Linked DNA regions of Homo sapiens: regions 1, 2 and 3 are each linked to region 4. Evidence: promoter capture Hi-C in 16 types of primary human blood cells and fetal thymus (Javierre and others, 2016). All regions are on one chromosome and are shown on one strand. The core of a region is centred on a gene start or on the middle of the fragment in contact, and the rest is flanking DNA. Distances in the headings are between cores, read along the strand shown. Region 1 has its middle 27 kb from the start of RPL39. Region 2 has its middle 24 kb from the start of SOWAHD. Region 3 overlaps LOC107985694 (a long non-coding RNA gene). Region 4 holds the start of UBE2A (ubiquitin conjugating enzyme E2 A).

Region 1 (7,036 bases), core at 4,073-6,572, 240 kb before region 4:
GGAGGCTCTATCTCCAAAAAAATTAAAAAAAAATAAAGAGGAGAGGAGTACGCAGCAGAAGAGTAAGTTTTGTCTCAAAGAAGGAATCTGGTCGGAGGTTCAGAATTGGAAGTACAATTTTATTGTTTTTGCAATTTCTATAAATTAAAGTGTCAGAAAATGCTGATGGCGAGGACATGCATTGCAATTTGCAGGGGAAATGTCAAGTGAGGACTTCATCACGTGTGACACGAGAGAAAAGTAAGAGCTGGTTTTAAAATCAAAAGCTGTTGTTCATCCTGAATTGAATTTCTAAATTTTGGTGGAGCAGAGTCGCTTTGAAGCTTTATTCCCATCTATTTCTATTGCATTGCTAATGATAACTGTTGACTTTGGGTAGTGTAGAAGCAACAAGCATGTCCTTGTCTATAAGTACAGGGAAGGATAGAACAAACTTTCATTGATGCAAACATTTAAATAGTCATGTTACTTCTGTATCCAATGTCCTAACATTTTAGGGTTACTTTTGTTTTTTTATTTGCTTACATAAGCTTAGCATGAAGAATATTTTTAAACATCTCGTTTTGTCTCCAGCATTTTTTCTATTAAGAGGTAAAATGTAGTCCTTGTTGGATTCTTGACAATCTAGTTTGTTTTATCTCAGGTCTCATGATCTGGTGCCTACCCTCTCCAGGAAGGAAACTGCACCAATGTCTGTTGTTGTTACATATCAACTTTTAGTTTCAGTTTGTTTTGTTCTGATGTCAATACATAGTAACAGCAGTCAAGTATGAAGCTAAGTGTGGTGAGTAACTTTAGTAAACAGCTGTGAGGTTTTTTTTGTTTTTTTTGTTTTTTTTTTGAGACAGAGTTTCACTCTGTCACCCAGGCTGGAGTGCAGTGGCACAATCTCGGCTCACTGCAACCTCCACCCTCCGGGTTCAAATTATTCTCCTTCCTCAGCCTCCTGAGTAGCTGGGACTACAGGCACCTGCCACCGCGCCTGGTTAATTTTTTGTATTTTTAGTAGAGATGGGGGTCTCACCATCTTGGCCAGGCTGGTCTTGAACTCCTGACCTCGTGATCCACCGGCCTCAGCCTCCCAAAGTGCTGGGATTACAGGCGTGAGCCACCACGCCCAGCCAGCTGTGAGTTTTGAGAAATTAAATTTTTTATACTGTATTAGCCTCTTGGAAGTATCAAAAGCAGATGAATAATGTTAGTTTCTGCCTTCACAGGCATTGCCTTTGTTTTGTCCACCAGAGAAAGATCAGTTCATGGTTCACTCCTGTATTAGGCCGTTCTTGCATTGCTATAAATAAATGCCTGAGACTGGGTAGTTTATAAGAAAAGAGGTTTAACTGGTTCACAGTTCTGCAGGCTGTACAAGCATGGCATCTGACATTGCTCAGCTTCTGGGAGGCCTCAGGGACCTTTTACTCATGGCGGAAAGTGAAGCAGGAGCAGGCATGTCACATCACAGAGTGAGCAAGAGAGTGAGTGTGGGAAGGAGGTGCCACACTTTACAACAACCTGATCTGTAAGAACTCACTATGGAGAGGACAGCACCAAGCCATGAGGGATCCGCCCCATAACCCCAATACCCCACCAGGCCCCACCTACAACACTGGGGATTATATTTCCATGAGATTTGGGTGGGGACAAATTTCAAAACTACATCAACTGTTCTGGTCCCATAAGAACAAAATGTTTAGACAACATCCTTGAGCTTTTGCCTGATTTTCATTCATCCTGCCAGCCCTTCCTAACATGGCATCTGTTTGCCAGATGCCTGGGCTCAAACAATCTGTCCACTGTAGCCTCGAAAAGTGCTGGGATTATACGCATGAGCCACCGTGTCCAGCTTTATATGGATTTTTAAAAGAACAGAAGCCAGGGGCAGTGGCTCATGCCTGTAATCCCAGCACTTTGGGAGGCTGAGGCGGTTGGATCACCTGAGGTCAGGAGTTCGAGACCAGCCTGGCCAACATGGTGAAACTCCATCTCTACCAAAAAATACAAAAAAAAAAAAATTGGCCAGGCTTGGTGGAGCGCACCTGTAGTCCAAACTCCTCGGGAGGCTCAGGCAGGAGAATCACTTGAACTTGAGTGGCAGAGGTTCCAGTGAGCAGAGATCTCAATCCTGCACTCCTGCCTGAGCAACAGAGTTAGACTCCATCTGCCCCCCTCACCACCACACCCAAAAAAAGGCCGGGCTTGGTGGCACATGCCTGTAATCCCAGCACTTTGGGAGGCTGAGGTAGGTGGATCACCTGAGGTCAGGAGTTTGAGACCAGCCTGGCCAACATGGTAAAACCCCATCTCTACCAAAAAATACAAAAAAAAAATTTGGCCGGGCTTGGTGGAGCACACCTGTAGTCCAAACTTCTCAGGAGGCTCAGACAGGAGAATCACTTCAACTCGGGAGGCAGAGGTTGTAGTGAGCCTAGATCTCACCACTGCACTCCTGCCTGAGCGACAGAGGGAGACTCCATCCTCCCCACAACAAAAAGGCAGGGGATTGAGGTGGCACATGCCTGTAGTCCCAGCACTTTGGGAGGCCAAGGCGGGCACTTCACCTGAGGTTAGGGATTCAAGACAAACCTGGCCAACATGGTGAAACCCAGTCTCTACTAAAAATACAAAAATTAGCCAGGCACAGTGGCGGGCTCCTGTAATCCCAGTTAGTCGGGAGGCTGAGGCTAGAGAATCGTTTGAACCCAAGAGGCGGAGATTGCAGTGAGCCAAGGTCGTGCCACTGCACTCCTGCCTGGGCGACAGAGCCAGACTCCATCTCAAAAAAAAAAAAAAAAAAAAGGAAAAATAGAAAAGAAAAGTTTGTGGAAAATAGAAATAAAAGAAAAAAATATAAACTTCTCATCGTAAGATCCACCAAGGTCAAGACACTTTCATAAGCAATGATAACTAGCCATTTATGTATGTATGTATGTCTCTTGCTCACAACAATTACATACTAGTCATTTCATCCATCCCCTAAGAAGTGGAGGTCCTTGGAATTTAACCACATCAATGAAATCTTTTTTACATTATTAACTGAAGAGAAATGGTTGCCCTTTACAGACTTTTTAAAATTAGGAAACAAAAAAGTGACAGAAGAAGCTAAATCCCGACTGTAAGGTGGATGCCTAATGGTTTCCCATTGAAACTCTCAAAATTGCCCTTGTTTGATGAGAGGCACGAGCAGAAGCATTACCGTGGTAGAAAAGGACTCTCTGGTGAAGCTTTCCTGGGCATTTTGCTGCTAAAGCTTTGGCCTTCTCAAAACACTCTTATAATAAGCAGGTGTTGGCCGGGCACGGTGGCTCATGCCTGTAATCCCAGCACTCTGGGAGGCCGAGATGGGAGGATCACGAGGTCAGCAGTTCGAGACAAGCCTGACCAACATGGTGAAACCTCGTTTCTACTAAAAATACAAAAATTAGCCAGGCGTGGTGGTGCGTGCCTGTAATCCCAGCTACTCAGGAGGCTGAGGCAGGAGAACAGCTTGAACCTGGGAGGCAGAGGTTGCAGTGAGCCGAGATTGCACCACTGCAGTCCAGCCTGGGTGACAGAGTGAGATTTGGTCTCAAAAAAAAAAAAAAAAAAGCTGGTGTTACTATTCTTCGGCCCTCCAGAAAGTCAATAAGGAGAGTTGCTCAAGCAGCTCAAAAAACTATTGCCATGACCTTTGCTCTTGGCCAGTCCAGTTTTGCTTTGACTGGATCTCTTCCACCTCTTCAGAGTCATTGCTTTGATATTGCTTTGTCTTCAGAGTCATACTGGGAAAGCCACGTATCACCTCCCGTTACACTTTCCCAATAGATGCTTCATGATCTATTGGTTGGTGCCAACGTAATTGCGGCTTTTGACATTCCATGGCATAAACCACAATTAATATGCAGCAACGTAATAGATCTCACTTGTTTAAAATTTCCGTTGAAATCTCTGTTCTTGTCTGCAGCTGATCTGGTTTTGGCACCCATCAAGTGGAAAGTTTGCTCAACTTTTAATTTTTCAGTCAGAATTGTGTAAGCTGAACCAATTGTGATGTCTATGGTGATGGCTGTTGTTTCTGCCATTAATAGTTGGTCTTAGTCTCTCACGAAGGCTGGAGGCCAGTGGCACAATCTTGGCTCACTGCAACCTCTGCCTCCCGGGTTCAATGATTCTCCTGCCTCAGCCTCCCAAGTAGTTGGAATTACAGACACCTGCCACCGCACCCAGTTAATTTTTGTATTTTTATTAGAGACAGGGTTTCACCACGTGGGCCAGGTTGGTCAGATGACCCGCCCGCCTTGGCCTCCCAGAGTGCTGGAATTACAGGGGTGAGCCACCACACCCAGCCGATGCTTTTCAGTTAAAGCACGAAGAGGATTTTTGTTGTTGTTGTTTTTTAAGACGGAGTCTCATTCTGTTGCCCAGGTTGGAGTGCAGTGGCATGATCTCAGCTCACCACAACCTCCGCCTCCTGGGTTCAAGCGATTCTCCTGCCTCGGCCTCCTGAGTAGCTGGGACCACAGGCTCATGCCACCATACCCAACTAATTTTTGTATTTTTAGTAGAGACGGGGTTTCACTATGTTGGCCAGGCTGGTCTTGAACCCCTGACCTTGTGATCCACCCGCCTCGGCCTCCCAAAGTGCTGGGATTACAGGTGTGAGCCACTGCGCCTGGCCTAATTTTTTCCCTTGCATATTGATGTGGATGACCTGCTGCTGCAGGCTTCATCTTCAACATCATTTTGTCCTTTCTTACAAGTTATCCATTTGTAAACTGCTGATCTCTTTAGGGGCATTGTCCCCATAAACTTTTGGTAAAGCATCAGTGATTTTACCGTTCTTCCACCCAAGCTTCATCTTAAATTTTATGTTTGTTCTTCCTTCAATTTTAGCAGAATCCATTTTTCGCTGATAGGAGCTCTTTTCACACTGATGCTTTCTCCTTTTTAATGCCTCAAACTAGATCCTGTCGAGATATTTTTTAACGAGTTAGTACCAGTTTATTTTGATGCCAAAAGATTTTGCAATCCATGCATAGTTTCTTGATAATACACATTTTCCATGGACTTTTTGAAGACTTCTCATATGACTGTTGATATGATTGAGCTCTGTTCCCGCACCCAAATCTCATCTTAAACTGTAATCCTCATGTGTCAAGGGAGGAGCTTGGTAGGAGGTGATTGGATTATTGGGGCAGTCTCACACATGCTGATCTTGTGATAGTGAGTAAGCCTCACAAGATCTGATGGTTTTAAACAAGGCAGTTTTTCCTATGCTCGCACTTCACCTCTAGTCTGCTGCCATGTAGCATGTGTCCACTTCCCCTTCTGCCATGATTGTAAGTTTCCTGAGGCTCCCCCAGCCATGTGGAACTGTGAGTCAATTAAACCTCTTCGGCTGGGCTTGGTGGCTCACCCCTGTAATCCCAGCTTTGGGATACCAAGGCCGGTGGATCACCTGAGGTCAGGAGTTCCAGACCAGCCAGGCAAACATGGCGAAACCCATCTCTACTAAAAATACAAAAATTAGCTGGGTGTGCTTATGCCCGCCTGTAATTCTAGCTACTCAGGAGGCTGAGGCAGGAGAAGCGCCTAAACCTGAAGGGCAGAAGTGTGGTCAGCCGAGATCGCACCATTGCACTCCAGCCTGGGCGACAAGAGCGAGACTACGTCACATATTTTATTTATTTTATAAATAAATAAAAATAAAATAAAATAATTAAACCTCTTCTCTTTATATATTACCCAGCCTTGGGTATTTTTTCTACTAGTGTGAAAACCAATTAATATAGCTGTGAAAGAAATGGAGATACATAGGTTAATGGTGTTAATGAAGCTTTATTTTAAATATGAGAAAGTAAGTAAGTTTAGAAGCCAAAAGGTAAGCTCTACAAGGATGAATACTCAAGAGAAAGAGACAACGAATACTGTAGGCTTCCTGCAAAGGCAGGTGAAAATGGAAGCCAAGGTAGAGGTTAGAGGAGTTGGCCTTAGGAGAAGCAACACTCCTGAACCCCCAGGCATGAGTTGACATCCTTGCCTCTTTGTCTAGCCTGTTTTCATGTCAGCACCTCCCTCTTCTGTTCTACTTGCCTGGCCTGTCCAGCTCTGGATAAATCACCCATCCCCACCCCACCCTCTTCAATTTCTTCCATTTGCTCATTCATTTAGCAAACATGTACCAATCACTGACTGTGTGCCAGGCCCTGGGGTCAGGGATTCAAATAAGTCCTTGTGCACGTGGAACTCATGTTTCAGTGTTGGCAAGAGGCAAATAGCAATAATCAGATCATGATGCACAATGTCAGAAGGGTCGCGGTAGCACAGGGTGTTGTGGGAGCCTCTTGCCCCTAAGCTGCAAGTGTCGCTGGAGAAAATCCCTCAAGCAGATCAATTGGTGAAACCACAGGAGAGCCTTCACTCCTGCTAAGCAATTTTTACCATCAGTCTTGAATTGATATCCTTTCCCCAGTGCCACCTTTCTTCTACTTTGCTCCCTTGCTCTCCTTTCTTGTGTTGCAGGCAAGGGGGGTGAGGACCACTTCCTCATAAAGCATAATTTCATGTCCTTAATAACTATAGGCCAGGCATGGTGGCTCATGCCTGTAATCCCAGCACTTTGGGAGGCCGAGGCAGGTGGATCACTTGAGGTCAGCAGTTGGAGATGAACCTGGCCTACGTGGTGAAACCCCGTCTCTACTAAAAATACAAAAATTAGCCGGGCTTGGTGGTGTGCACCTGTAGTCCCAGCTACTCAGCAGACTAAGGCAGGAGAATCGCTTGAACCCGGGAGGCAGAGGTTACAGTGAGCCGAGATTGCACTACTGCACTCCAACCTGGACAACCAGAGCGAAACTTCGTCTATGCAGGCAATCCTAGCATTTGGGAGGCCAAGGTGGCAGAATCATTTAACTTCAGGAGTTCAAAGCCAGCCCGGATAACATAGGGAGACCCCATCTCTATTAAAAATTTTAAAACTTAGCCCAGTGTGGTAGAGCGTGCCTGCAATTCCAGCTACTAGGAAGCTGAGGTGGGAGGATGGCTGGAGTCTGGAATGTCA
Region 2 (7,058 bases), core at 2,121-4,620, 160 kb before region 4:
CGCCTGTAGTCCCAGCTACTTGGGAGGCTGAGGCCAGAGAATGGCGTGAACCCGGGAGGCAGAGCTTGCAGTGAGCTGAGATCACGCCACTCCACTCCAGCCTGGGGCGACAGAGAGAGACTCCGTCTCAAAAAAAAAAGAAAAAAAAAAAGGAGAGTGCTTGAAATCTTCAAAGCACCTGACAGTTGATATTACTGTGCGTCTCTGTGGTCCCACAGCACAGAGCCTGGTCCCCTGGGTGAAATTGACAAAGAAGCAGATTTTGGCGCAGTTCCATTAAGAGCTATCTAACCATGATAGGAATCTTAAAATGTAAATGGCTGCTTTGGGAAATAGTAAGTTCCTCATCACTGGAGATACTTAAGCAGAGACTGGATCAGTATTTTCTTGGAGGCTGCATGGAGGAATTCCTGCATACAAAAGAGGGTTGGAGTACATCACTTCTAGGGGCTTTTCCAACTTTTAGGTTAGAAGATTCTTTTTTTTTTTTTTTTTTTTTTTGAGACGGAGTGTCGATCTTGTTGCTCAGGCTGGAGTGTAATGGTGCGATCTCGGCTCACCGCAACCTCCACCTCCCGGATTCAAGCGATTCTCCTCCCTCAGCCTCCCAAGTAGCCTAGTAGCTGGGATTACAGGCGCGTGCCACCACGCCCGGCTAATTTTTGTATTTTAGTAGAGACAGGGTTTCTCCATGTTGGTCAGGCTTGTCTTGAACTCCCAACCTCAGGTAATTTGCCCGCCTCGGCCTCCCAAAGTGCTGGGATTACAAGCATGAGCCACTGCGCCCTGCCATTTTTTTTTTTTTAAGATGGAGTATCACTCTGTCACCCAGGCTGGAGTGCAGTGGAGTGGCACAATCTTGGCTCACTACAGCCTCCACCAACCAGGTTCAAGGGATTCTCCCGCCTCAGCCTCCCGAGTAGCTGAGATTACAGGCACCCGCGACCACACCCAGTGAATTTTTATATTTTTAGTAGAGATGGGGTTTCACCATGTTGCCCAGGCTGGTCTTGAACTCCTGGCCTCAAGTGATCTGCCTGCCTCAGCCTCCCAAAGTGCTGGGATTACAGACGTGAGCCACTGCACCTGGCCCATTTCTTTCTTTTTTTTATTTTTTATTTTCTTGAGACAGAGTCTTGCTCTGTCACTCAGGCTGGAGTGCGGTGGTGCGATCTCAGCCCACTGCAAACTCCACCTCCTGGGGTCCGGCTAAGTTATGTATTTTTAGTAGAGATGGGGTTTCGCCATGTTGTCCAGGCTGCTCTTGAACTCCTGATCTCAAATGATCCGCCTGCCTCAGCCTCCCAAAGTGCTGGGATTACACTCGTGAGGCACCGCACCTGGCCTTCACTATTATTTATTTATTTGACACAGAGTCTTGCTCTGTCGCCAGGCTGGAATGCAATGGTGCAATATTGGCTCACTGCAACCTCTGCCTCCCGGGTTCAAGCGATTCCCCTGCCTCACTGAGCCTCCTGAGTGGCTGGGACTGCAGGACTGCGCCACCATGCTTGGCTAATTTTTTTTTTTTTTTTTTTTGTAAGTTAGTAGGGATGGGGTTTCACCATGTTGGCCAGGATGGTCTGGATCTCCTGACCTCGTGATCCGCCCATCTTAGCTGGGATTACAGGCGTGAGCCACCATGCCCGGCTGCCTTCACTATTACTAATATCATATTTTATTTCATGTAATGGTTATAATAGCCCTGCCAGGGAGAGTGAACAAAACAGGCTTTAAAGTTAGACAGACCTGGTTTGAATCTCAGCCTGAAGACTTAACTACGTGACTTATATAAGGCACTTTACTTCTTTGTACCTGAGCTTCCCCATCTATAAAGTGGAGGTCATGATAATGACACCTGCCCCCTCATCTGCCCCTGCCCAGCAGCTGCTCCTGGGATTCTAGTGTTTCTAGAGAAACTGTGGCTGCTGTCTCTCCCAGCGCTGTCGTCTTCTCTGGGCCAGAAGCACACACAGCCTGAGCTTGTTGGACCTCACGCCCCTGCTGTGCCCTCTGTGGGGCTCTCAGCTCCAAGTGGGTTCTGTCTAATAATTACATAATAAGGTGTAATCACATAATAATTACACTTTAGCTATCCTACGAATTAAGGCAGCTCTTCCAAAGACAGCACATCACACAATGCCCAGCATGTGCCAAGCTTCAGTTAATGAGAGCTGGGTTTGGTTTGTTTTGTTTTGTGATCTGACTGGGCTGTGACCTCCTTGGCTGGCTCTGGGTTCATCTGTCCCTCTCCCAGATGAGCAGTCTGCAGCCCTCCCCTTCAGCAAATGGGGCCGCGTAGCCTCCGCACTCCTCTTGGTTGCTGCCCAATGGGCTGTGACAGATGTCCTGCCAGGCAGCTGCTGGCCCTGCTCATCCTGTGGCCCTCTTTCTAGCATCTGGGCTCCTCAGCTCCTTGGGGGATGGGACTTCGGGGCTCCTGGTCTTGACTTTGGTGGCTAAACATAGAGTGCCAAGTCTATTTGTTCCCAAGTAGTTGAGATGGCACAAGCCTGGCCACCTTGCCCTGGACGCCCAGCTCCCGGTTGAGGAGAAGCCCCCTGCAGGAGTCACTATTATGCCTCCCTGGCCATTTCCAGGCCTGAAAGTGACATTTCTCTGCTCAGTTCACTGTCACTAAAGATGGGTTCATGTGCTGTTTTCTCCAGAGCCTGGTCTGCCCTCTCATCCATGCCTGTCACTCAGCCCAGCTTGTCACTTCCCTCCTTCAACAGAACCTCAAACTGCTACCATGATGCAGCCTGGGCACTCTTCCATCTGTCTGCCTTGCCTGCCCCTGCCCGGCAGCCGCTCCTAGGATTCCAGTGCTTCTCGGGAAGCTGTGGCTGCTGTCTCTCCCAGTGCCGTTGTATTCTCTGGGGCAGAAGCACACACAGCCTGAGTTTGTTGGACCTCATGCCCCTGCTGTGCCCTCTGTGGGGCTCTCGGCTCCAAGTGGGTTCACTCTATGAGCCTGGCCGGCTGCCAGCTGGCTGGCTTTGCAGCCGACTCTGGTGAGGAAGTCCTGCCAAGGGCTGGCCTGGATCACTGTTGCTAGAGGAGCAGCCACCTCCCCACCACCACCCCACATAGAAACATTGGGTTCCACATTTGTAAGCGGACATGCCCAAGAATTTGCTACCCCCACTCGTTGTGCGTCAAAAGCTGGCTAAAGGCTGGGTGAGGTGGCTCACACCTGTGATCCCAGCACTTTTGGAGGCCAAGGCAAGCAGATCACTTGAGGCCAAAAGTTCCAGCCTGGCCAACATAGTGAAACCCCGTCTCTACTAAAAATACAACAATTAGCTGGGCGTGATGCTGTGTGTCTGTAATCCCAGCTACTAGGGAGGCTGAGGAACGAGAATTGCTTGAACCCGGGAGGTGGAGGTTGCAGTGAGCTGAGGTTATGCCACTGCACTCCTGCCTGGGCTAGAGTGAGACTTCGTCTAAAAAAAAAAAAAAAAAAAAAAGCTGGCTAAAATGGGCAGCCACGAAGAGGGGTAAAGATCTTATTGTGATCGGAGTTCTAGGTCTGCTGGTCACTGGCTGTGTGACCTTGAGTGATTACTTAACCTCTCTGAACCTCCATTTTGTCATCTGAAAAATGGACATGAAAGGAATTACTTTATTACCTCATAGGCCTTTTGGAAGGATCAAATGAGAACTTGGATGTGAACACTTTTTTTTTTTGAAACGGAGTCTCGCTCTGTCACCCAGGCTAGAGTGCAGTGGCGCTATCTTGGCTCACTGCAAGCTCTGCCTCCCGGGTTCACGCCATTCTCCTGCTTCAGCCTTAACGAGTAGCTGGGACTACAGGCGCCCGCTACCACGCCCGGCTAATTGTTTTGTACTTTCAGTAGAGACGGGGTTTCACCGTGTTAGCCAGGATGGTCTGGATCTCCTGACCTCGTGATCCGCCTGTCTAGGCCTCCCAAAGTGCTGGGATTACCACTGCGCCCGGCCTTTTTTTTTTTTTTTTAAGACGTGGTCTCGCTCTGTCACCCAGGCTGGAGTGCAGTGGCACGGGTGCGATCTCGGCTTACTGCAAGATCCACCTCCCCAGTTCATGCCATTCTCCTGCCTCAGCCTCCTGAGTAGCTGGGACTACAGGCGCCCGCCACTACGCCCGGCTAATTTTTTTTGTATTTTTAGTAGAGACGGGGTTTCACCGTGTTAGCCAGGATGGTCTCGATCTCCCGACTTCGTGATCTGCCCACCTTGGCCTCCCAAAGGGCTGGGATTACAGGCGTGAGCCACTGCATCCGGCCTCTTTTTTTTTTTCTTTTTTGCGACAGAGTCTTTCTCTCACCCAGGCTGGGGTGCAATGGCAGGATCTCGGCTCACTGCAACCTCCGCCTCCCAGCTTCAAGCGATTCTCCTGCCTCAGCGTCCTGAAGAGCTGGGATTACAGGCATGCGCTGTCACGCCCAGCTAATTTTTGTATTTTTAGTAAAGACAGGGTTTCACCATATTGGCCAGACTGGCCTCGAACTCTTGACCTCAAGTGATCCACCCGCCTTGGCCTCTCAAAGTGCTGGGATTATAGGCGTGAGCCACCACACCCGGCCTCCTTTCAAGCTTCTGATGGCTGCAAGCAATCCTTCATGCTCCTTGGCTTGTAGATGCATCACTCCAATCTCTGCCTTTGTCTTTTTTTTTTTTTCGAGACAAAGTCTCACTCTGTCGCCCAGACTGGAGCGCAGTGGCGCGATCTCAGTTCACTGCAACCTTCGCCTCCAGGGTTCAAGTGATTCTCCTGTCTCAGCCCCCCGAGTAGCTGTGATTACAGGCATGTGCCACCACGTCCAGCTAATTTTTTTTTTGTTTTGTTTTTGTTTTTTGTTTTTTGTTTTTGTTTTTGTTTTTGAGATGGATTCACCCAGGCTGTAGTGTAGTGGCACGATCTTGGCTCACTGCAAGCTCCACCTCCCGGGTTCACTTCATTCTCCTGCCTCAGCCTCCTGAGTAGCGGGGACTACAGGCACCCACCACCACGCCTGGCTAAGTTTTTGTATTTTTAGTAGAGACGGGGTTTCACCATGTTGGCCCGGCTGTTTTCGAACTCCTGACCTCAGATGATCCGCCCACCTCAGTCTCCCAAAGTGGTGGGAATACAGGTGTGAGCCACGGTGCCCGGCCTCTGCCTATGTCTTTATGTCACCTCTCTGTGTCTTTTCCCTTTCTTTTCCCTTATTAGGACACCTGTCATTGGATTTAGGGCTTGCCCTAATCCAATACAATCTCGTCATAACATTTTTACCTTAATTACATCTGCAAAGACCCCTTTTCCAAATAAGGTCACATTCTGGATGGATATATGTTTTGAGAGAGGTTCCATATTCAACTCACTGCAGAAAGGTATTAAGAATTTCAACAGGGCTGGGTACGGTGGCTCACTCCTGTAATCCCAGCACTTTGGGAGGCCGAGGCAGGTGGATCACAAGGTCAAGAGTTCAAGATCAGTCTGGCCAAGATGGTGAAACCCTGTCTCTACCAAAAATACAAAAATTAGCTGGGTCTGGTGGCACATGCCTGTAATCCCAGCTACTCAGGAGGCTGAGGCGGGAGAATCGCTTGAACCTGGGAGGCGGAGGTTGCAGTGAGCTGAGATTGCTCCACTGCACTCCGGCCTGGGCGACAGAGTGAGACTCTGTCTTAAAAAAAAAAAAATTCAACAGGGTCTCAGAAGTGCATTAGACCAATTGCAGGACCCTGCTAAGAGTGGGGCCCTGTCCCACTACACAGATCACATGCCCATGAAGCTAGAGTGTACCAAGGTCATCCATGCCCTCCCTTTATGCTGTCAAATCCAGCAGTTGGGTCTGAGTCCTCACCTTACTGGACCCTCTCAGCAGCATTGGACATTGTCGATCACCCCATCCTCCTTGCAACTCCTGCTTCCCTTGGCTTCTGGGACACCCAGCTCTCCTGGTTTTCCTTTGAGCTCCCTAGCCAGTCAGTCATTCCTCAGTGCCTTCCTTCTGCTGGTCCTGCTGGCTCCATCCTCTAGAGTCTGGAGATTGGGGAGCCATGGGGCTCGGACCTCGTCCACTTGTCTCTATGTACTCGCTCCCTTGAGAATCTCATCTCATCCAGGTCTTTCAATGACCCCTCTGCACAGACGCCTGCTGCTCCGATCCTTCCTCTGAATTCCAGACACACAGATCCAGCTGCTGTCCAGCAGCCTGCTGACAGCTCCCCTTGGAGCTCTAATAAGCTTCTCAAACTTAGCCCATCCATAGTGAAGTCTTCCTAGTTGCTTGGGTGAAAATCTGCCAGCCATCTAAATGCCTCTCTTTCCTCTCACATCTCAACACAGTCTCAGCAAACACTTCCTGCCCTTCTTAGAATGAGATCCCCACTCCTTGCCATGGCTCACAAGGTCCTCCATGAAAACATGACTGAGTCTTCTGCAATCTCACCTCCTCCCTCTCCTACCAACTTCATCCCCACCCCGACCTGCACTGAGGATGCTCCAGTCCTCCACCACCCCGCCTCTGGCTCCTTGATCACACCGAACACTCTCCCACCTCAGGGCCTTTGCACCTGTAGTTCCCTCTGCCTCGTGTGATCTTTCCCAGTTCACTCATGAAGCAGGCTCCCCCACTTCATTCAGTCCTGCTCCAATGTCACCTGCTCAGGGAAGGCCTCCCTGACCACCCTGTTGAAAATAACACCCTCTGGTCCCTCTCTGTTCCCATCCCCTGCTTTGTTTTTATCCAGAGGCATCTCGTACTTGCATTTGCTTCAAATCTACCTCCCTAGAAAGTAAGCTCCATAATTTTAGGGACTTGGTGTTTTTCACTACCGTCATTGTCACCACCCAGCACAGTATGTGACACATATGTGTTGAATCAGAGAATGAATGAATCTAAGCATGTTGCTCTCCTCGCTTAAAATCCCGAGATGCTCCATCACATCTCCGTGCTTTTGCCCATGCTGTTCCCTCTGCTCAGAATGTCCTTCCCCTTCCTAGCCTGCCTGGAAAACTTTTAGTCATCCCTCAAGACCAGAGCCCACTGTCGCCACCTTTGTGAAGCCCCTAGTTGCTGTAAGAG
Region 3 (7,065 bases), core at 3,842-6,341, 220 kb before region 4:
TACTCAGGAGGCTGTGTCAGGAGAATTGCTTGAACCCAGGAGGCAGAGGTTGCAGTGAGCCAAGATCACACCAGTGCACTCCAGCCTGGGCAAGAGAGCAAGACTCTGTCAAGAAGAAAGAAAGGAAGGAGGAAAAAAATGGAAAGGAAGGAAGGAAGGAAAAAGAAAGAAAAGAGGAAAGAAAGGGAGGGAGGGAGGAAGGGAAAGAAAGAAAAGGGAGGGAGGGAGGGAGGGAAGAAAGGAAGGAAGGAAAAAAGGAAAGAAGGAAGGAAGGAGAGAAAGGGAGAAAGAGAAAAAGGAGGAGGAAGGAAGGAGAAAGAGAAAGGAAGGAAAGAAAAGAGAAAGAAAAGGGAGGGAGGGAGAAAGGAAGGGAAAGAGAAGAAGGAAGGAAGGAAAAGGAAATAAGGAAAGAAGGAAGGAGAAAGAAAAAAGAAAGAAGGAGGGAGGGAGGGAAAGAGAAGGAGGGAGGGAGGGAAAGAGAAAGAGAGAGAAAGAAAAAGAAAAAGAGAAAGAAAAGGAAGCAAGGAAAAGAGTGAGAGGGAGGGAAGGAGGAAGGAAAGAGGGAAGGAGAGAGGGAGGGAGGGAGGAATGAAAGAAGGAAGGAAGGAAAAAAGGAAGGAAAGGAGGGAGAGAGAAGAGGGAGGGAGGAAGGAAGGAAAGAAGGAAGGAAAGGAAAGAAGGAAAGAAGGAAGGAAAGAAAGAAAAAAAGGAGAAAGGAAAGAAAGAAAGAAAAAAAAAGAAAGAGAAAGAGAAAGAAAAATGAGCCGGGCATGAGAGCTCTTCCAGGTAATCCTAGCATTTGGGAGGCTGAGGTGGGAGCATCACTTGAACTTAGGAGTTCGAGACTAGCCTGGGCAACATAGTGAGACCCTGTCTCTATTAAAAAAAATAAAAAATGTTGGCCTGGCACAGTGCCTCACACCTGTAATTCTAGCACTTTGGGAGGCCAAGGTGGGATGATTGCTTGAGCTCAGGAGTTCAAGACCAGCCTGGGCAATATAGTGAGACCCCACTTCTAAAAAAAATGAAATACTGATTCATGCTACAACATGGATGAACCTTGAAAACATTATGCTAAGTGAAAGAAAGCAGACACAAAAGGCTACATATTGTGTCTCCATTTATATAAAATATCCAGAATAGGCAAATCCACAGAGACGGAAAATAGATTAGTGGTTTCCTAGGGCTGAGAGAAGAGTGGGAATGAAAGAGTGACTGCTAGGCCAGGCACGGTGGCTCACATCTGTAATCCTAGCACTTTGGGAGGCTGAGGCGGGTGGATCACCTGAGGTCAAGAGTTCAAGACCAGCTGGGCCAACATGGCAAAACCCCATCTCCACTAAAAATACAAAATTAGCCAGGCGTGGTGGCACATGCCTGTAATCCCAGCTACTTGGGAGGCTGAGGTAGGAGAATCACTAGAACCCAGGAGGCGGAGGTTGCAGTGAGCTGAGTTCATGCCACTGCACTCCAGCCTGGGTGACAGAGACTCTATCTCAAAAATAAATAAAATAAAATAAAATAGTGGCCGGTGCGGTGGCTGACACCTGTAATCCCAGCACTCTGGGAGGCCGAGGTGGGCAGATCACCTGAGGTCAGGAGTTCAAGACCAGCGTGGCCAACATGGTGAAACCCTGCCTCTACTAAAAATACAAAAATTAGCTGGGTGTGGTGGTGCATGCCTGTAATCCCAGCTACTTGGGAGGTTGGGGCAGGAGAATCGCTTGAACTCGGGAGGCCGAGGTTGCAGTGAGCTGAGATCACGCCATTGCACTCCAGCCTGACAGAGCAAGACTCTGTCTCAAAAATAAAATAAAATAAAAAAACGGTGATTTTCATATTACGTGAATTGTATCTCACTTAAAGAATGGGAGAGAAGTTGGAAACAGTGAATGAAGACAAATCTTTACCAGGGTTTTGTTGTAAAGGGAAGGAGAAGAAGAAGTAGCTGGCAAGGGAGTTGGAGTAAAAAGCAGCTTTTTTAAGATGACAGCATATTTATTTGTATGTTGATGGGAATAATGCAGTGAACAGCAAGGACAGAAAGGGAAGACTAGTCAGAGCAGGGTTGTTGAATGGGCGAGAGAGGTTTGGATCTAGGGCACAAGCGAGCAGACAGGCCGGACATAGTTCAAACGTTTCATTCACAGTAACAGAGGGATGGGGGAATAGTCACGTGGAGGTGTTGGCAGATAGCATGTGTGGATGGGCTGTGGGAGTTCTCTTGTGATTGCTTAAATTTTCTCAGTGACTAGGAAGCCAGGTCCTCAACTGAGTGTGAGAATGGAGGAAGAAGGGTTGCAGGTTTGAGGAGGGAGAGGAGAGTCTTGACATAATTATCTAGGCCTAGGCTCAGCAAATTACAGCCTATGGACCAAACCTGGCCACTGCGTGTTTTTGTACAGCCTGAGAGCTAAGAATGGTTTCTGTATTTTTGAATGGTTGAAAAAAATCAAAAGAATATTTTGGGACACATGACAATTCTATTGAATTTAAATTTTAGTATCTGTAACTAAAGTTTTCTTGGAACCCAGCCACACCGTTCATTTACATATTGTCCTGCAGCTTTCATCCTGCAACAGCAGAGTTGAGTAGTCGCAACAGACACTGTATGTCATCTGCAAAGCCTAAAATATTTACTATCAGAAAAAGTTTGCTGACCAGGCGTGGTGGCTCATGCCTGTAATCCCAGCACTTTGGGAGGCTGAGGCGGGCAGATCACCTGAGGTCAGGAGTTGGAGACCAGCCTGGCCAACATGGCGAAACCCCGTCTCTACTAAAAATACAAAAATTAGCGGGCATGGTGGTAGGTGTCTGTAATCCCAGCTACTCCAGAGGCTGAGGCAGGAGAACTGCTTGAACCTGGGAGGCGGAGGTTACAGTGAGCCGAGATCGTGCCACTGCACTCCAGCCTAGGCGACAAGAGCGAGACTCTGTTTCAAAAAAAAAAAAGCATAATTTTAACAACCGCCCCCACGAGCCTTCTTGTTTCCACTATTGTCCCCATCCCCATCTACTCTCCAGCTGGCCAAAGGATCTTTTTAAAATACTTACATAATTGGCCAGGCACGGTGGCTTATGCCTGTAATCCCAGCACTTTGGGAGGCCGAGGTGAGATCGCTTGAAGTCAGGAGTTCGAGATCAGCCTGGACAATGTGGTGAGACCCCGTCTCTACCAAAATACAAAAAATTGGGTTGGCAGCACGCACCTGTAGTCCCAGCTACTTAGGGGCCTGAGGTTGGAGGATGGCTTGAGCCGGGGAAGTGGGGGTTGCAGGGAGCTGAGAATATACCACTGCACTCCAGCCGGGGTGATAGAGCAAGACCCTGCCTCCAAAAACAACAACATCAACAACAACAAATATATAATTGCCACTTACTCTTACCCTTTAAAAGCTTTCAAGGCTCCCAATTGCCTTCAGCAGTAATTTTGAAAATCCACCCTCAAACAAGAAGGGTCGGGCCAAACAATGAAGATGTAAACTGCCCTGTGGAGTCTGTTCTTTGATGTTGTCTCTTTGATGTATTAGCGTTTGTTCATTCATTCACCAAATATTTACTGCGCATCTACTATGTGTCAGGCACTGTTCCAGGCTCAGGGAATACAGCAGTGAACAAAATACACAATCCATGACCTCATGGAGCTTACATTCTAGGCAGGGAGTCAAACAATAAATAAAATATATGTTATCTCAGGTAAGTAATATGGAGAAAAATAAAGCAGTAGTAGGGGTAGGGAGTGCTGAGTGGGGGCCAGGGGTTGCAAATTTTTTTTAGAGAGAGTCTCACTCTGTCACCCAGGCTGGAGTGCAGTGGCTCAATCACTGCTGACTGTAGCCTCGAACTCCCCAGGCTCAGGTGAGCCTCCCACCTCAGCTTCCTGAGTAGCTGGGACTACAGGCATGTGCCACCACACCCAGCTAATCTTTGCATTTTTCTTGTAGAGGCGGAGGTCTCACCATGTTGCCCAGGATGGTCTCAAACTTCTGGGCTCAAGCCCAGAATGCTGGGCCTTGACCTCCCAAAATGCTGGGATTATAGGTGTGAGCCACTGCGCCCGACCTGGGGTTTGCAATTTTACTTTATTTTATTTTATTTTACTTTATTTTATTTTTGAGACAGAGTGTCCCTCTGTCTCCCAGGCTGGAGTGGAGTGGCATGATCTCAGCTCACTGTAACCTCCACCTCCCGAGTCCCGGTTCAAGCAATTCTCCTGTCTAAGCCTCCTGAGTAGCTGGGATTACAGGCACACACTATCATGCCCAGCTAATTTTTTGTATTTTCAGTAGAGATGGGGTTTCACCATGTTGGCCAGGCTGGTCTCGAACTCCTGACCTCATGATCTGCCCGCCTCAGCCTCCCAAAGTGCTGGGATTACAGGCGTGAGCCATCGCGCCCGGCCGAGCTGCAATTTTAGATAGATAGAGTGGTTAGGGAAAGCCTCACTGAGGTGACATTGGAAAAAAGACCTAAGGAGACTGATGAAGGAAGCCATGAAGGCGTGGGGACATCTAGGGGAAGAGCTTCCAGGTAGCGAGAAGAGCAAGTGCAAAGGCCCTGAGCTGAGAACTGCCCAGTATGGCCAAAGCCCAGTGAACTGATGGTGAGAGCAGTGGGAGATAAGGTCACAGAGGTGAGGTGGAAGGGGCTGATGTGGAAGCGTATGCCTGTTGTGAGAACTTGAATCTTTAATTTTTTTCTTCTTTTTATATTTTTTTTGGAGATAGAGTCTTGCTCTGTTACTCAGGCTGGAGTACAGTGGTGTGATCTCATCTTACTGCAGCCTTGACCTTCCGGGCTCAAGCAATCCTCCCACCTCAGCCTCCTGAATAGCTGAGACCACAGGTGTGTGCCCCGACATCCGGCTAATTTTTTAACGTTTCGTAGCGACAGGGTCTCCCTATGTCGCCCAGGCTGGGGCACTTAGATATTTACTGGAGTGAAATGAGCCATTAAGAACCACTAAATAGGCCAGGCACAGTGGCTCATGCCTGCAATCCCAGCACTTTGGGAGGCAGAAGGGGGCAGATCCCTTGAGCTCAGGAGTTCAAGACCAACATGGCCAACATACACCCCCATCTCTATTAAAAACACAAAAATTAGCCGGGTGTGGTGGCATGTGCCTGTAGTCCCAGCCATTTGAGAGGCTGAGGCACAGGAATCACTTGAACTCAGGAGGTGGAGGTTGCAGTGACCTGAGATCATGCCACTGCGCTCCAGCCTGGGTGACAGAGCAAGACTTAGTCTCAAAAAAATGAAAAATAAAAAGGAGCCACTAAATACAGTGACATGATCAGGCTTAGGTTTTAACAGGGTCATTGACTGCTGTGTTGAGAAGAAACTGTAGAGGGGCAGGGCCAGAAGAAGGGGGAAGAGTTTGAAGGATTTTGCAGTAATCCAAGTGAGAGATGAACGACGGTGGGGGAAATGAGCACTGAATTCGAGAAACATTTTTGAGACAGCTGACAGGATTTGCTGAGACTGGATTAAGGGTGTAACAGAGAAGAGTCAATGGTGAGTTTCTATATAAAATGGCTTTTAAAACAAAGAGCCATTCTGTTAAAGAAGTCTGCAAACTACATCGGGCGTGGTGGCTCACGCCTGTAATCCCAGCACTTTGGGAGGCTGAGGCGGGTGGATCACTTGAGGTCAGGAGTTTGAGACCAGACTGGCCAACATGGTGAAACCCATCTCTACTAAAAATACAAAAATTAGCTGGGGATGGTAGCATGTGTCTGTAATCCCAGCCACTTGGGAGGCTGAGGCAGGAGAATTGCTTGAACCAGGGAGGTGGAGGTTGCAGTGAGTGGAGATAATACCATTGCACTCCAGCCTAGGCGACAGAGCGAGACTCTGTCTCAAAAAAATAAAAATAAAAGAAAGAAAAAAAAAGAAGTCTGCAAATTGTTGGTCCCCAGGATAAAGCTCAGACTCCTAGGCTGGCTCTGGGAGGCCCTGGATACCTGTTCTTAGCATCTACACCTTTGCAGATATAATCGTCTCTCAGTATCCATGAAGGATTGGTTCCAGGATCTCTTTAATACCAAAACCCACTGATGTCCAAGTCCTTTATATAAAATTATGTAATATTTGCATATAACCTACACACATCCTCCTGTATACTTTAAGTCATCTCTTGTTTACTTATAATACCTAATGTAGTGTAAATGCTATGTAAATAATTATTATACTGTATTGTTTTTCATTTGTATTTATTTTTAGAGATAGGGTCTCACTACATTGCCCAGGCTGGACTTGAACTCCTGGGATCAAGCAATCTGCCTACCGCAGCCTCCCAAGTAGCTAGGACTACAGGTGCATGCTGCCACACCTGTCTATATTTGTATTATTTTTTATTGCTGCATTATTTTTTTCCAACTTTTTTTTTTTTTTTGAGACAGGGTCTCACTCTGTTGCCCAGGCTGAAGTGCAATGGTGCGATCTCGGCTCACTGAAACTTCCACCTCCTAGGTTCAAGCAATTCTCCTGCCTCAGCCTCCTGAATAGCTGTGATTGCAGGTGTGCCACCATTCCCGGCTAATTTTTGTATTTTTAGTAGAGACAGGGTTCTGCCATGTTGGCCAGGCTGGTCTCGAACTCCTGATCTAAGTTGATCCACCCGCCTCAGCCTCCCAAAGTGCTGGGATTACAGGTGGGAGCCACCACGCCCGGCCATTTTTCCAAATATACATTTTTTAACTTGGATTTTTTGGATTTTTATTGCTCATTTATTTAAGAGCAAGCATTTTCTTTCTGGTGACCAGAAGCAGCAGCAAATAAGCTTTTAAGTGCTTATGTCAATTATCCTTTTAATTCTTACTGCTTTTAGAAAGAGCACTTCTTGCTGGTTTTCCTTCTACCTTTCATGCCACCCTTTCTCAATTTTTTTTTTTTTTTTTTTGAGACGGAGTCTCCCTCTGTCACCAGGCTGAAGTACAGTGGCATGATCTCCACTCACTGCAACCTCCACCTCCCGGGTTCAAGCGATTCTCCTGCCTCAGCCTCCCGAGTAGCTGGGATTACAGGCGCCACCACCACACCCGGCTAATTTTTTGTATTTTTAGT
Region 4 (7,479 bases), core at 1,123-3,622:
CAAAAACAAAAAACAAACAAACAAAAAAACTAGTGCCAATCTGGTAGAAGAAAATTAAGTCTAGCTATAGTTTTTTGCTACAAATCAGTTCAAATGATTAACTGCGCCAAAGTAGTATGCCCTTACAATCACTGTTTCCTGCTGTCATTTCTTTTCTTTGCAGCCCTGAAGAGTAATGATATTTACCCAGGGGGTAAAGGTAAAGAGGAAGCTAAAAATATTCAGGTGACTGTCCACAGTTTCCTGGGGAAATCTAAGTACTTGAGATGAATTACAGACTTAGTTGAAATTGACTTACCTCACAACATTTTGTGGACTGGTAGCATCAAAAAGCAATCCGGCTCAGCAACATAAGTATGTATTAAGTAGTTTGCAGAAATGTTTTTGTTCCCACCTTCAAACTGAAGTGTGTGTGTGTGTGTGTGTGTGTATAAATGCTATGTGACCGAAGGAAATCATTGAGGAAAAAAATAACAGAAAGATCCTTTTCCTTTTTTTTAAAACCTCAAATATTAAAGAATTTCATGAGTTCAAATACTTTAATCATCCTTTAAATGTATTAAACTTTCAAAAAACAACCACACACACACACAACTGAGTGTAGAACTATCAGTGTCATTTTTCCGGTTGTGATAGGGTCTAGTCATTCAAGATGTTACCAAATGGGAGGGTTTGGGTAGAGGACTGGGTTAAGGGTATAAAGGGTGTCTCTATTATTTCTTGCAACTGCATATGAATCTATAATTATCTAAAATCAGAAAGTTTTTAAAAAGCAATTTACACGTGTTTTTAAAAGTTAAACCTAAATCAATTAAAAATTATGTACCTACTGGTACATGTAGTACTTTCAGGTAGGCAGGACACTGATCAAAAGGGTACATTAAGGCTAACTTCAATTGTGAAGCTGCTTTGAAATTACTCATCATAACGTCTTGATGAAAGCACACACTGCAAATTCACTTAAAAATAAGAAAGAATACTGTACTCAAATGAGGCATTTAAGACCATCTTAGAGCAGTGAGGCTGACAGGCATTCAATGTCAGATTGTAGAAACCAGACAGTTGTACGCAAGGGATTCTCGCATCCACTCAACATCCAACACACATCTACCAAGCACCTGCTGAACACAACTCCTGCCCTTGGGGTAGAATTCTGAACCAGATGGTCTCTGGGGTCTCTGCTGCCTATCAGCAACTGGTTGGGTTTATACTAATTCAGTGATGGAGGGCTGAATTTAGCAGAATTACAGCCCAAGCCTCAAAAATCCTTAATACCAGTGCTATGATTGCTCCTTTTAAAAAGTGACTGCCTTACACAGATTTTTTTTTTAAGAAAGCAAGAAGAAAGGTGCAGTTCTAGTCAAGCATACAATATCCAGAACCACCAGCCACACACTGCATTCCACTCAAGCCTTTAGCAGACAGAGGCTAGGCAGAGGCAGGTTCCTAAGCAGGAGACACTTCCAGGATGACTGGGAACCCTTTCCCCAGATGACCAGGCTCCTGAAAAGTGGGTAAAGAAACTCTCTCTTACCATCCTCAAACGGGGTCCCTTCAGGCCTGCAACACAGAGAAAAATGGTCAGTTCCCACTTAAGGGGCCCCCTTCTCCCTGCTTCATCTGAGATGGCTATCCCGAGCTCTGCCATCTCCAGCACCGCTACCGGGGTCGGAAGCCACTACAAATGGATGTCCCGGGCTCAGAGACACAGGGCAAGCCGCCGCGCCTAACCGCCACCACTCCCCGCCCCGCCCCCCTAGAACCCCAAGCGGTTCCCCCTGGCAGCGGGAACTGAGCTAATCGAGGCACAGGCTCCGGGGAGGCGCCTAGGCCCAGCCAGACCCAAACATTTTCCCCTACCCGCTCGGCCTCCGCGGGGGGCCCGCCCCGGAGCGCAGACCGAAGCTGCTCGCGTCCCCAGTTTTCTCGCCACCGCCACGAACGCAGACTCACCCGAAAATGACCGCGTTCCACACCATTATGTTGTTCTCGGACGGAGCCCCGCTGACTCCGGCTGGAGGATCCTCCTGCAACCTTCGGGAAGACAGACAGGGGTCCCCCTAGGCCGGCACTGGCGCCCGCTCCCGGCCGCTCCCCAGCCCTCCCCGCCCGGCGCGCCTCGGGACCCGCCCTGTGCCCCAGCTCGCAACCCCCGGCCTCGGCCGTCCCCTCGGTTTACCTCTTGAAGTCCCGCATGAGGCGCCGCCGAGCCGGGGTGGACATGTCGCGAGCGGGGTCAGGGGTGGGGCATACACTGGGGTCTCGGGTTCCCGCGGCGGGCGAGGAGGCCGAAGAGGCTGGAGAAGCAGGAGAAGGGGAGGCGGAAGCACCCAGAGGAACCGCGCTGCCTCTCCGAAGTCGAGGGTCGGTCTGGCGCCGGCTAAGCACCACCCCAGTGTAGACGGGGGCTGAACCAACCTGAGAGCAGAGAGAGGGGGGTGGAACGTCGAGCGCCGGACAGGCCGTACCAAGACGGGGCGGGGGGTGCGCGAGGAAAGTTGCTTATGTCATTAAAGCCCCACGGGAGGCCCGGGGCGGGGCCGCGAGCGCAGAGGCGTAGGGTACGCCGGAGCCCCGGGCGCTGGAGGAGCTCGTGGTGGAACGGGGTCCATCCCCACCTGCTAATTCTAAGGCAAACCCTGGGAAGTTTTCGGCTTTTTTTCTTTTTCTCTTTTTTTCTTTTTCTATTCGTTTTTGTTTGTTTTGTGACCAGATCATTCATGAAAGCGCGCACTATGCCCGGGGAGGAGAGGGGAGAAGTTTGGAAGTCCCAAACTAGAGGACGAAGGAGTGGGCGGAGGTAAAACCGGTTCTCAAAAAGCGGCAACTCTAGGGTGCACAACCCCTTCGGACACCGGAGACTGGGGTCGGAGGGGTGGGGAGAGGAGTGATTGGTTAAAATCACGGAAAATCAAAAGAATAAATCGGCCTTGACTATGACGGGGGGGCGGGGCGGGGCTGTGGGATTGAATGCAGGATTGGGCGCTCAACGTTTAGGCCAATGATCACCCCAGGGCAGAATGAAATAGTGTTGTATGTCCTGTGGGAGGGAATGGGAGCTTAAGGCAGGCGGAGTAGGGTTTTGTTTTGTTCTGTTTTGTTTTGGGCACTCACAATTTGGCTCTGGAACCACATTTCCCCTTGGTAGTTCAACAAGCCAAGCGGCTATTTATGTTCAGAAGAGTCCAAGATATGAGACTATCCGACTGCAGGGAGTTGCAAGGACAGTGGGTCTGAAGTAAAAGGAACGTGGAAAAGCTGCAGGTTGCAGGAAGAGTCACAGTCCGTGGACCTGCAAAAGCAATAACAGTTTTAAAGGATAATTTTTAAAGGTCAACCCAAAATAACTTAGAAGATAGGCATAATACACATTTAAAAATTATTGAAAATAGGAGAAAGGTAGATTTGGGTTAAGTCATCAAGAGTTTTGAATGCCAAGCTAATGGATTCCTTGGAAGTCCATTGAGCAGGGAAGTGACATCATTAGAGCTGTCCTTATCAGAGATTGGTCTCAAGAGAGCAGGCAGGAGACTCTTGCAGTATCTAGGTGCGAGATACTGAAGCAGGCAGTGACAATAAAGGCGAGGATATGAATGAATGGGGAGGACTTGGCAACAGGCTGAATATGGGGCAAGAGAGAGGAAGGAGTCAACAGTGGCTGAAACTCTAAGCCCCGAGATAACTGGGGTTTTGAAGGTGCCATTAACAGAATTACAGAATAGAGAGAGAGGGACAAGTTTGGAAAAGGAAATTTTGGGTGGGACTTACTGAGTTCATGGGACTGGTGAGACATCCCCGTGAAGATGTCCAGAAGATATCAGATGTGCAGGAATTTGTTTCTAACATGAGAAGCAGGAGGCACTTGACAATGGTAGTGATTCTAGCTGCTGCTTAACAACAGGTACTTTCATGGTCAAGGATTTCTATCTCCCATTAACTCCAACATATCAGTTAAGGCAAGTCTCCCTAATAGCATCACATTATGGCTGTAGTAGGAAGGGGGTACAAAAATTAAAAAAAAAAAACTTTTTTTCCTCTCATCTAAGAACTTGCAGTCTACTAACACACACATACACACATATGAAATCAACAAAAGCAAGATCTACAAAAGCAAGTATATTCGTTTTCATCACTGCTTAACAAATTACAAGTTGTTGGCCAAGCCCAGTTCATTGCAGTTGTAGGACTTTGGTCCCTATTTCCTTACTAGCTGCCACCTGGGAACTACTCTCAGCTCCTAGAGGCCGCCTGCATTCCTTGCCAAGTGGCCTACTCCATCTTCAAAGTCATCAACAGAGAATTTCTCTCCCACCACATCCCTCTCACTCTTTGAATCTTGTTTTCAGGAAGAGCACAGTCTACTTTAAAGGCTTATCAGATTATGTCAGGCCCACCCCATGGATAATTTCCCTATGTTAAAAACATCTAAGTTGGGACCTTTATTATGTCTGCTAAATTTTTTCACTGCAGAACCTAGATTAGTATTTCATTTAATAACTGGGAGAAAGTGTGTGTATATACCAAGGACCAAGAATCTCAGGGGAGGGTAGCATCTTAGAAGTCTGCCTACGACAGCAACAGCAGAACCAGAACGGTTTCAGATTTCCTTTTTTTTTTTTTTTTTTTTTCAGATTTTGGAATTATTTGCATTATAAAAGTTTCAGGTTTTGGAGCATTTCGGATTTTAGATTTTCAGATTTGAGATCCTCAACTTGTAGAAGTGTGTGAAACCACAGATGCTGAGAGATTGCACAGCAGAGGAATCGTCATTCTGGTGGGATCAGGACAAGCTTCCTGAAATGGGTGTATTTCAATTTTGTTTCAACAGAGATGAAAGCGGAGCTTGAGAGAGAAGAACTTAAGCAGTTTATATGGGGGCAATGGCACAGACAAGGGCATGGAGCTAAACCCGTGGGCAGATGAGCTTGGCTAATGGACAGGTTCTTGGCTGGGGAATGATGAGACCTCAGCTAGGAAAAGTGAGGGTGACAGAAGTTGATTAAATGCCCTCAAATGCGAGAATGGGGAATTTAGGCAGCTTTTATAGGTGTTTGAGCATGAGAGAGATGTATTGAAAATATCCTGGCCGGGCGCGGTGTCTCACACCTGTAATCCCAGCACTTTGGGAGGCCAAGGCAGGTGGATCACGAGGTCAGGAGATCAAGACCATCCTGGCTAACATGGTGAAACCCCGTCTCCACTAAAAATACAAAAAATTCTCCGGGCGTGGTGGTGGGCGCCTGTAGTCCCAGCTACTCTGGAGGCTGAGGCAGGAGAATGGCGTGAGCCCGGGAGGTGGAGCTTGCAGTGAGCAGAGATCGCGCCACTGCACTCCAGCCTGGGCGACAGAGCAAGACTCCATCTCAAAAAAAAAAAAGAAAAAAAAGAAAAAAAAGAAAATATCCTTTTGAGGCCAGGCATGGTGGCTCACGCCTATAATCCCAGCACTTGGGAGGCCGAGGCAGGTAGATCACCTGAGGTCAGGAGTTCAAGACTAACCTGGCCAACATGAGGTAACCCCATCTCTACTAAAAATACAAAAAAATTAGCTGGGCGTGGTGGTGAGGACCTGTAGTTCGAGCTACTCGGGAGGCTGAGACAGAAGAATCGCTGGAACCCAGGAGGCGGAGGTTGCAGTGAGCGGAGGTCATGCCACTACACTCCAGCCTGGGCGACACGACCAGACAAAAAAAAAAGAGAAAGAAAAAGAAAATACCCTATTAAGAAGCGGCATGTACCGTACTAAAAAGTATGAAAGGGACTGAGAAGCTCCTGCTACTGGATATACATGTCTGAAATTTATTGAAGGATATAGATGTATGTAAGTTTGTTGTGAGCTTGTCTGTTTTTTGAAACCCCCTTTCTCTTCCTTTCTTGGACTTTCTTCCTTTCAAGAAAACTAAGGGCTGGGCTCAGTGGCTCAAGCCTGCAATCCCAGCACTTGGGGAGGCCAAGTGGATCACCTGAGGTCAGGAGTTTGAGACCAGCCTGACCAACATGGAGAAACCCCGTCTCTACTAAAAATACAAAATTAACCGGGCATGGTGGTGCATGCCTATAATCCCAGCTATTCCAGAGGCTGAAGCAGGAGAATTGCTTGAACCCGGGAGGCGGAGGTTACAGGGAGCTGAGATCGCACCATTGCACTCCAGCCTGGGCAACAAGAGCGAAACTCCGTCTCAGAAAACAAAACACAAACAAACAAACAAAAAAACTCAGGAGCATGACCCAAATGGTTGGAAGCCCCCTGGCACCTGCATGGGAGTAGCATTCTCTGACTAAGGAATGAAACTGCATTGCAGGAACACCGTGCCCCCACATTCCTCAGCAGAAGCAGGGTTGTCATAGCAAGCAGCAATACAGAAGATTGTTTTCCAGCATGATGATTATCAGGCTAGAACATACTAACTTTAGCACAGTTTGGCCAAGCATTCTTTCTACCCTTTTTTCACCTTGACATCTTGAAGAAATACCCTCTTCACAGCCAAGCACCACCCCTACCCAAGAGCAGGGGTCCAGAAAGGATAAGTCTCCTCAATTTAAAGAAAAGTGGGCTGGGCACAGTGGCTCATGCCTGTAATCCCAGCATTTTGGGAGGTGGAGGTGGGAGGATCGCTTGAAGTGAGGAGTTTGAGATCAGTCTGGGCAAAAATGCAAGACTTGTCTCAAAAAAACCAAAAAAATTGTGAAATTTCATTCATGAAGATTTCAACATGAAAAATAGATTTTTATTTTCCTGAAGTATTTTGGGTTAGGAGAAGAGACGAAATTAAAGATCATTTCTTGCCTTATCAGGCTGTAAGTTTGTATTTCTGTTATCCAGTGAAGGCAAAGGACTTTTACTTTCCTACGGTTTTCACCTCTGTTGATAAAATTTAGTACAAACAGCAACAAAGCACCAACAGAAAATAAAATCGAAAGGTCTTTCTTGACTCAAATAATCTCAGAAAATATTTCAAGAGAATTACTTTTAGGAAGTAACAGTTAGCAAAGTGTGTGCTCTTGCTCTTGACAACTTGTAGTATGTTGTTCATCTTCAGCCTCTAGGACATAAGTGGTGGGGGGAAGAGAGAGAGACAAAGAGGTTGGGATGGAGGGAGGGGAATATCAAAGCTGAGGGAAATGGGGAAATTAAGGCCTTGAAAATGGGATTTCAGGCCAGGCACAGTGGCTCACGCCTGTAATCCGAGCACTTTGGGAGGCCGAGGCGGGTGGATCACCCGAAGTCAGGAGTTTGAGACCAGCCTGGCCAGCATGGCGAAACCCCGTCTCTACTAAAAATACAAAAAAATTAGCTAAGCGTGGTGGTGCGTGCCTGTAATCCCAGCTACCTGGAAGGCTGAGGCAGGAGAATCGCTGGAACCTGGGAGGCAGAGGCTGCAGTGAGCCGAGATCACGCCACTACACTCCAGCCTGGGTGACAGAGCCAGACTCCGTCTCAAAAAAAAAAAAGGATTTCACTACCTGCTAAATTACTGA

The links. Contacts are between HindIII fragments. The CHiCAGO score rates a contact against its expected background, and 5 or more counts as called.
Region 1: a fragment that was not itself captured here is called in contact with the fragment with the promoter of UBE2A in region 4 in 4 of 17 cell types (activated CD4 T cells, total CD4 T cells, fetal thymus and 1 more); the score reaches 5.9 in activated CD4 T cells.
Region 2: a contact is called between a fragment that was not itself captured here and the fragment with the promoter of UBE2A in region 4, in 2 of 17 cell types (naive B cells and activated CD4 T cells). The highest score is 5.9, in naive B cells.
Region 3: a contact is called between a fragment that was not itself captured here and the fragment with the promoter of UBE2A in region 4, in 1 of 17 cell types (neutrophils). The highest score is 6.3, in neutrophils.

Annotation. Positions count from the first base shown.
Region 1 is chrX:119,815,603-119,822,638 of GRCh38, reverse strand. It overlaps a transcript of UPF3B not described here and the pseudogene LOC100422368. Among named protein-coding and RNA genes, the nearest start is that of RPL39, 27 kb to the right of the region's middle. The HindIII fragment of the contact is 984 bases long and covers 4,831-5,814 here.
Region 2 is chrX:119,730,957-119,738,014 of GRCh38, reverse strand. No RefSeq gene overlaps it. Among named protein-coding and RNA genes, the nearest start is that of SOWAHD, 24 kb to the left of the region's middle. The HindIII fragment of the contact is 2,420 bases long and covers 2,161-4,580 here.
Region 3 is chrX:119,795,310-119,802,374 of GRCh38, reverse strand. The region is part of intron 2 of LOC107985694 (a long non-coding RNA gene); the gene reads right to left. Among named protein-coding and RNA genes, the nearest start is that of RPL39, 7.2 kb to the right of the region's middle. The HindIII fragment of the contact is 3,385 bases long and covers 3,399-6,783 here.
Region 4 is chrX:119,569,456-119,576,934 of GRCh38, reverse strand. It overlaps UBE2A (ubiquitin conjugating enzyme E2 A), which reads right to left and starts at 2,372. Exons shown (of 6, transcript NM_003336.4): 1 at 2,180-2,372; 2 at 1,954-2,034; 3 at 1,535-1,560. The coding sequence starts at 2,223. LOC124905208 (a long non-coding RNA gene) reads left to right here and starts at 2,440. Exons shown (of 2, transcript XR_007068307.1): 1 at 2,440-2,800; 2 at 4,632-6,946. RefSeq lists enhancers at 1,599-2,099, 2,100-2,600 and a silencer at 1,972-2,141. The HindIII fragment of the contact is 8,074 bases long and covers 1-4,792 here.